Regions from separate parts of the Homo sapiens genome. Here region 2 is linked to region 1. Evidence: promoter capture Hi-C in human tissues and cell types (Jung and others, 2019). All regions are on one chromosome and are shown on one strand. The core of a region is centred on a gene start or on the middle of the fragment in contact, and the rest is flanking DNA. Distances in the headings are between cores, read along the strand shown.

Region 1 (3,251 bases), core at 670-3,169:
TTAAAGGAGAAAAGGGTCCTATCTCTTTTCTCTTAATGTTAAATGTTATTTTGTTTGTGGAATGTTCACTCTATAATATATATGTTGATTAAGTATACCATTATGCATGATTTGCAATATTGATTGACCTGTGGAGTGCCTTGAGCCTGTGTGTCCAAGACTCTGAGTGCTGAGTGAGTGGGAAGTACTAAGGAGAATTGCTTTCTTGGAAACTCCATGTAGTTCGTGGCTTTTGTGATTGAAATAGCATCAGTAAAAGTCTGGCATTGTGGAAAAACACAAATGTACGTGGACTCTGTTATTTCTGACCTTGCACTCCTCACAAGGCATGTGAAATTGGAGTCACAGATGTAGAAACCAGGCAGAAGACAGTCTGAAGAGATGATACTTGAGAATTTTCCAAATATAATAAAAGACAACAAATCACAGATCCAAGAAGCTCAGATAAACCCAAGGACTTTCTTATAAAGGAAAAGATATACTTACCATATGATCAAATAATCTCACTCTAAGGCATTTACACAAGCAAAATGAAAACCAATGTCCATACAACGATCTGTATGTGAATGTTTATAATGGTTTTATTTATATTCACTAAAATCTGGGAACAACCCAAATATCCAGCAACTGGCAAGTGAATTGTATGATATATCCATACAATGGAATTCTACTCAGTAATACAAAGGAAGAAATTATTGATACATGTAATAATATGGATGAATCTCAACTACAAAATACTAAGTGAAAAAATATCAGATCCAAAAGGATATATAGGATTCCACTTATGTGACATTCTGGAAAAGGCAAAACTAGGGACAGAACACAAATTAGTGATTGCCATGGTTTGAGTATGGGATAAGTGGACTAACTACAGAAACAAGGGAACTTTGGGGATGACAGACAATTCCATATTTGACTGTAAGTGAATGTATGTACAAAATTCAAAACTAAAAAGGATAAAACTTTATGTAAATTATACTTTAAATCAACTTTTTTTTTTAATGAGGTGATTTAAATAAATGTGTTAGGTAGCTTGATGACACGGTAAGTATGAAAGTGGTACCAGAATGGCTTGAAACTCATAAAATATTGGCAGAGTGGTTATGAGTTATTCCAAAAATCAAATAATGCATATGTTGATTCGTAAGACCCTTGTCATTTCAGAAGCTGGAAATGAAACAGTACTAATGAATTTGTGGCTTCACCACTTTTTAGCTCCACAACCAGGAGCTATATCAGGAGAGATTAGGTTAATCTCTCTAAACCTGTTTTCTTTTCTATAAAAGAGGGATCATCATACTTGCCTACAGGGTAGAGTTACCAGATAAAATACAGGACGATTGGTTAAGTGATGTGAATTTCAGGTCAACCACGAATCCTACTTTAGGACGAGTAGGTACCATATATATTTATAATTAAAAAGCGATTCGCCGTTAATCTGAAATTCAACTTTAGACGTTCTGTAATTCGTGCGTGTGTGTGTGTGCATGTGTGTGTGTGAGTGACAGAGAGAGAGAGAGAGAGAGAGAGAGAGAGAGAGAGACAGAATCAGAATCTGGCAGCCCTACAGAGAGCCCTACAGAGAGGTTATGCGAATAAATAAGACACTGGAACCGCAAGACGTTCGCCCAGAGTTTGGCATAATAAGCGCCTCAGTGGTAGCGAACGCTATTTTAACCCCAGCCTCTGATGCATTACGTCTTCCTTTATTCTTTCGCCCAATTGTTAAATGAATCAACTGTACGTGTGGCCCTTCATTCCAAGCAGGCAAAAACTCGAAGGAAGCATCCAGGTGCATTATACCAGGACCCCAATTGTTAAGCTTAGAAATTCCAAGAGCGGGCGACGTCATGACGCAAAGGCCCCGCCCCGGAAGAAGCCCTAGACGCGTAAATAAGACGCCGACCGGCGCGGCGCTAGCCTCGGGGCTTGACGGGATTGTGGCGGTCCTCTCTCCCAATTCGGAAGCTACAGCTACCTCCGGACGCTCTCAAGATGGCGACCTCTCTGGGTTCCAACACCTACAACAGGCAGAACTGGGAGGATGCGGTGAGTGTGCCTGCCGGAGGAGGATGGAAGGAGGAGGCGAAGCCGCGCACCTTGCAAGCTGGCAGGACAGGGCCTGCGGCGCGGCCGAAGGAATACCGGGGAGGAGCCAGCGCGGCGGCCTAGCTTGGCCGGAGCAGGAGGGCGGAGGGCGATCCTCCTGCGGGCTTGAAGGGAGGGGGCTTAGCCAGGGTCCCGGGACCAGCACCCTTTCCATCCCTGCCCCCTCCAGCCTATTAGAGCTGGTTTTCTTTTCTCCCGCCGCCTGCCGGAAGTGCAGACAGCGCCCCCTCCCGCGATCGGGTCGTGATGGACTTCGGGTTCCTGCCGTGCCTAGTTCCCCACCCTCGCTTCCCGCCCCCTCGCCACCCCAAGTGTCACTGAGGTGTCAGGGTCTTCGGAGGGTGGTCCTCAACCAGATTTCCCATTTTCACCAGGACTTCCCCATTCTGTGCCAGACATGTCTTGGAGAAAACCCATATATCCGAATGGTGAGTGATCGCGTGTGAAACGAGTTATTCATGTCCTGTCGATGTTGTGGTACTTGCACACTGTGAAGTGTTTCTCTTAGACAAGCAGAAAAAATGATGCTCTTTTACTAACGCGAAGTGCTGGACGACTTGCAAAGAACTGTCATGTGTATTCTCTTACGAATCCGGTAACACTCCTGTAATGTAGGGGTAATAACGATAGCTAGTATTTGTTGAGCATTTACCTAGGAAATAGGTCTGTTGACCAGAAGGTGAGAGCGTTTGTGTCTTTTCATACAATAGTAAGGAATGGAGCTGGGATTTAAGTTCACATATTCTGGCTCTAGGAATGTCAGCATGATAGGAGGAGAACCAGAACTAGAAACTAGGTTTCCTGAATCCTGGTCAAATGCCTTTTGGCCAGTGTACTTTATCTCTTTAAAGTAAGCATTCCCCCTTTGTTACAAACTAGGGTAAAATTAGAACCAGTTAACAATAATAAGGTTAGGGCTGTATTATTGTGTAGTCGTAGAGGTGTTGATATGTTAGTATGTTCACGATGTTTGAATGGTTCAAGATGTTTGAATAGTTCTGTTTAAACAGAACATTTACTATATTCCGGGCATTGGCACAGGACAAGTCTACAGTAGCTACCTTTTGACTAAACTTTGTAAAGTGGGCGGGCCACAGCTGTATCCTCTCTGATTTAGGGATTGTGGAAAGCATTAGGAATGT
Region 2 (3,350 bases), core at 274-2,773, 670 kb after region 1:
CTTGACCTCCACAACTTTCACCTGAGAAGTCCTGTTGGATGGGCCACTTGGTAGCTGTGGATCAGAACAAATTATTTAGTGCTTTTGAACCTTAGCCAAACTCCTGAGCTCCCATGTCCTGAAACGACTTGAGGGAATGCTTTCCCGGGGAATTTGTAGAGCTATTCTCCAAATGAGCCCTCTGGACTGCCAGTTGGCAGTCACAAGCCCACCAAAGGCTGAGTGTCATGTTCAAGTCCAGGCCTTGCCACATGCTTCTGTGCAGTTTCTAATACCATGTATTAGAAACACCATGAATCAGATTTACAACTACTACTGAGTTATAAAAGCACATAATAGCTTTTATACATATAAATACATGGTTGAACAACTTTGCATAGAAAGATGTCTGAAAGACTATTCACTAAAATGTCACAGGGTAAGAGGACAATCATGGTTGTTTCTCCCTCTTTACCACTATCTACAAAATTTGCTTTTTTTTTGGTAGCGATGTGGGTCTCACTATGTTGCCCAGGCTGGTCTTGAACTGCTGGACTCAAGCAATGCTCCCACCTCAGCCTCCCAAAGTGCTGGGATTACAGGCAAGAGCCACCATGCCTGGCCTCAAATGTTTTATAAGGAATGTATATTTTACTTATATAGCTAAAAAAAAGAAAGAAAAGATAAAGCATACAAAATTAAAATTATTCTATAATAATGAATTTAAGTTGATTTTCTGAATATCTCATGTACCTCTTTACTGGTTTAAGACTAGTAAAAGAGCTTGTGGCTTTTAACAAATACCCAATGTCACCAATCAAAAGGAAACTATTTACAGAGAAGACTGGGGTTTACCCAAGTAACAGAGTGTACATGAAGGGAATCTAGGGGCTGGAAATATACAAAACTACCGACGCTAACCAGATACCTTCCTTCTACACCGCAAGATCACACATACACCCAGAGCTGCCACATCTGTGTGGAAAACAAAACAGTTCTCAAAGTAAAAGCCAGTTGATATTCCTGTCAGGGCAAATGTAAAACTGTTAAAGAAAGGAAGTTAACTGACAAAGAACACATGACAGGGGAGATGGCAGACCCGTTTTCCTATTCCAACCTGGTCCATGACACAGTTTTCAAACTACAGGTCACAATCCAATGAGGGGTCATAACATTAATTTAATGGGTTGAAACCAGGATTTTGCAAATAGGAATGAGAAAAAAAAAGTGACTGCATATAGTAAGGGCACAGCTTCATTAAACCTTTAGTATATATGTTTACTGGGCAGTAATAAAAAATATGCCTGTTACTGAAGGTCATGATCAAAAGCTTGAAAAATGCTAACTTAGGAAATTTTGAGAGATCCTTTTATAGCTCACAAGTATGACAATCTGGTATTCATGCACATGGGTGAGATGTGCCTCCCTCAAACCTCATTATAACGTCAGCACATTACCCATTTGACATGAAAAAAAAAAAAAAAACTTGATAACTATTCTAGCTACATATAGCCAAAAAACCAACCAACCAACCCCACTAATCCATGGAATTTGGACACACAGAAAATTTTTAATATCTGTATCACTAAATGAAGTGAAAAATATAAGCCACAAACTAGTATATGGAGTAAGAGCCAAGTTTCTGATTTTTAAAAAACTGTATTAAAAAATAAACACACACAAATTCAGGAAAAGACCTGAAAGCACATCGGATGGTCATTCTGGGTGGCAGGATCATGAGGGACTTTTCTTTCTCCTTTACCTGAATTTTCTATATTTTCTACAACCATGCATTCATTTTTAAAAGGAAGCTAAAGAGACATGACAACTAAACGTTAATATCTGATCCTAGACTGGATCACAGACTGGAGAAAAATATGCTATATAAAGGAACTGTGCTAGAATAGGAGGGGCTTTAAAAATATACAATAAAATAAAGAAGACACTGGGGAGGTGGCTAATGCCTGTAATCCCAGTACTTTGGGAGGCCGAGGAGGGAAGAGGATCGCTTAAGGCCAGGAGTTTGAGATCAGCCTGGGCAACATAGCAAGAGACCCCGTTTCTACAAAAAAAATTTAAAAATTAGCTTGGTATGGTGGTGCCTGCCTGTGTACCCAGCTACTCAGGAGGCTGAGTTGGGAGGATTCCTTGAGCCCAGGAGTTCGAGGCTGCAGTGAGCTATGATTGCACCACTGCACTCCGGCCTGGGCAACAAAGCAAGACCTTGTTTCTGGAGGAAAAAAAAAAAAAAAAAAATATATATATATATATATACACACACACACACACACACACACACACACACACACATACATACATATATATACATATATATATCAAACACACATATATATACATATATATATACACACACATACATATATATATATACATATATATATATATAAAATCGGGTCTGTGAAAAGAAAATAAATCTTGGGGCCCCCAAATCTCTATGCTAAATGGAAAAGTCAAGCTGGGAACTGCTTAGGGCCAACCTGCCTCCCATTCTATTCAAAGTCACCCTCTGCTCACTGAGATAAATGCATATCTGACTGCCTCCTTTGGAAATGCTAATCAGAAACTCAGAAGGATGCAACCACTTGTCTCTTATCTACCTATAACCTATAAGTCCCCTCCCTGCTTTGAGTCTTCCTGCCTTTGCTTCCAGTTGTCCTGCCTTTCCAGACTGAACCAATGTTCATCTTGTGTATGTTGACTGATGTCCCCCTAGAATGTATAAAACCAAACTGTGCTCTGACCACCTTGGGCACATGTCATCAGGACCTCCTGAGGCTGTGTCCCAGGTGCATGTCCTCAATTTTGGCAAAATAAGCTTTCTAAATTAACTGAGACCTGTCTCAGATTTTCAGGGTTCACAGGTCGAATTGACACAATTTGGAATATGAATGGGAGAGTAAAGGTATACATCAATGTTTCAGTAAAAGAATATTCCTATTCTAGGCCAGGCGTGGTGGCTCACCCCTGTAATCCCAGCACTTTGGGAGGCCGAGGTGGGTGGATCACTTGAGGTCAGGAGTTCAAGGCCAGCCTGGCCAACATGGTGAAACCCCATATCTACCAACAATACAAAAGTTAGCCGGGCGTGGTGGTGTGCTCCTGTAATCCCAGCTACTCAGGAAAGGCTGAGGCAGGAGAACCACTTGAACCCAGGAGGTGGAGGTTGCAGTGAGCCAAGATTGTGCCACTGCACTCCAGCCTGGGTGACAGAGTGAGACACTGCCACCAAAAAAAAAAAAAATCCCTATTCTTATGAAATACACAAACAAGCATAAAGGCATAACTTACCCTATAATGTGTATTTTACACACATGCAATGTGTACACACCCACATATGGTGGGGGGACACA

The links. Contacts are between HindIII fragments. The study calls those that stand out against the background at their distance.
Region 2: a fragment that was not itself captured here is called in contact with the fragment with the promoter of RBM22 in region 1 in 1 of the 25 tissues and cell types used here (psoas muscle).

What each region holds. Positions count from the first base shown.
Region 1 is chr5:150,699,730-150,702,980 of GRCh38, reverse strand. RBM22 (RNA binding motif protein 22) reads left to right here and starts at 1,919. Exons shown (of 11, transcript NM_018047.3): 1 at 1,919-2,049; 2 at 2,484-2,537. The coding sequence starts at 1,996. RefSeq lists enhancers at 1,124-1,900, 1,901-2,677. The HindIII fragment of the contact is 5,081 bases long and covers 623-3,251 here.
Region 2 is chr5:150,027,445-150,030,794 of GRCh38, reverse strand. HMGXB3 (HMG-box containing 3) reads right to left here. Exons shown (of 20, transcript NM_014983.3): 10 at 1-54. It overlaps LOC124901207 (small nucleolar RNA U13), which reads left to right and starts at 1,343; the gene lies at 1,343-1,446. The HindIII fragment of the contact is 3,972 bases long and covers 1-3,350 here.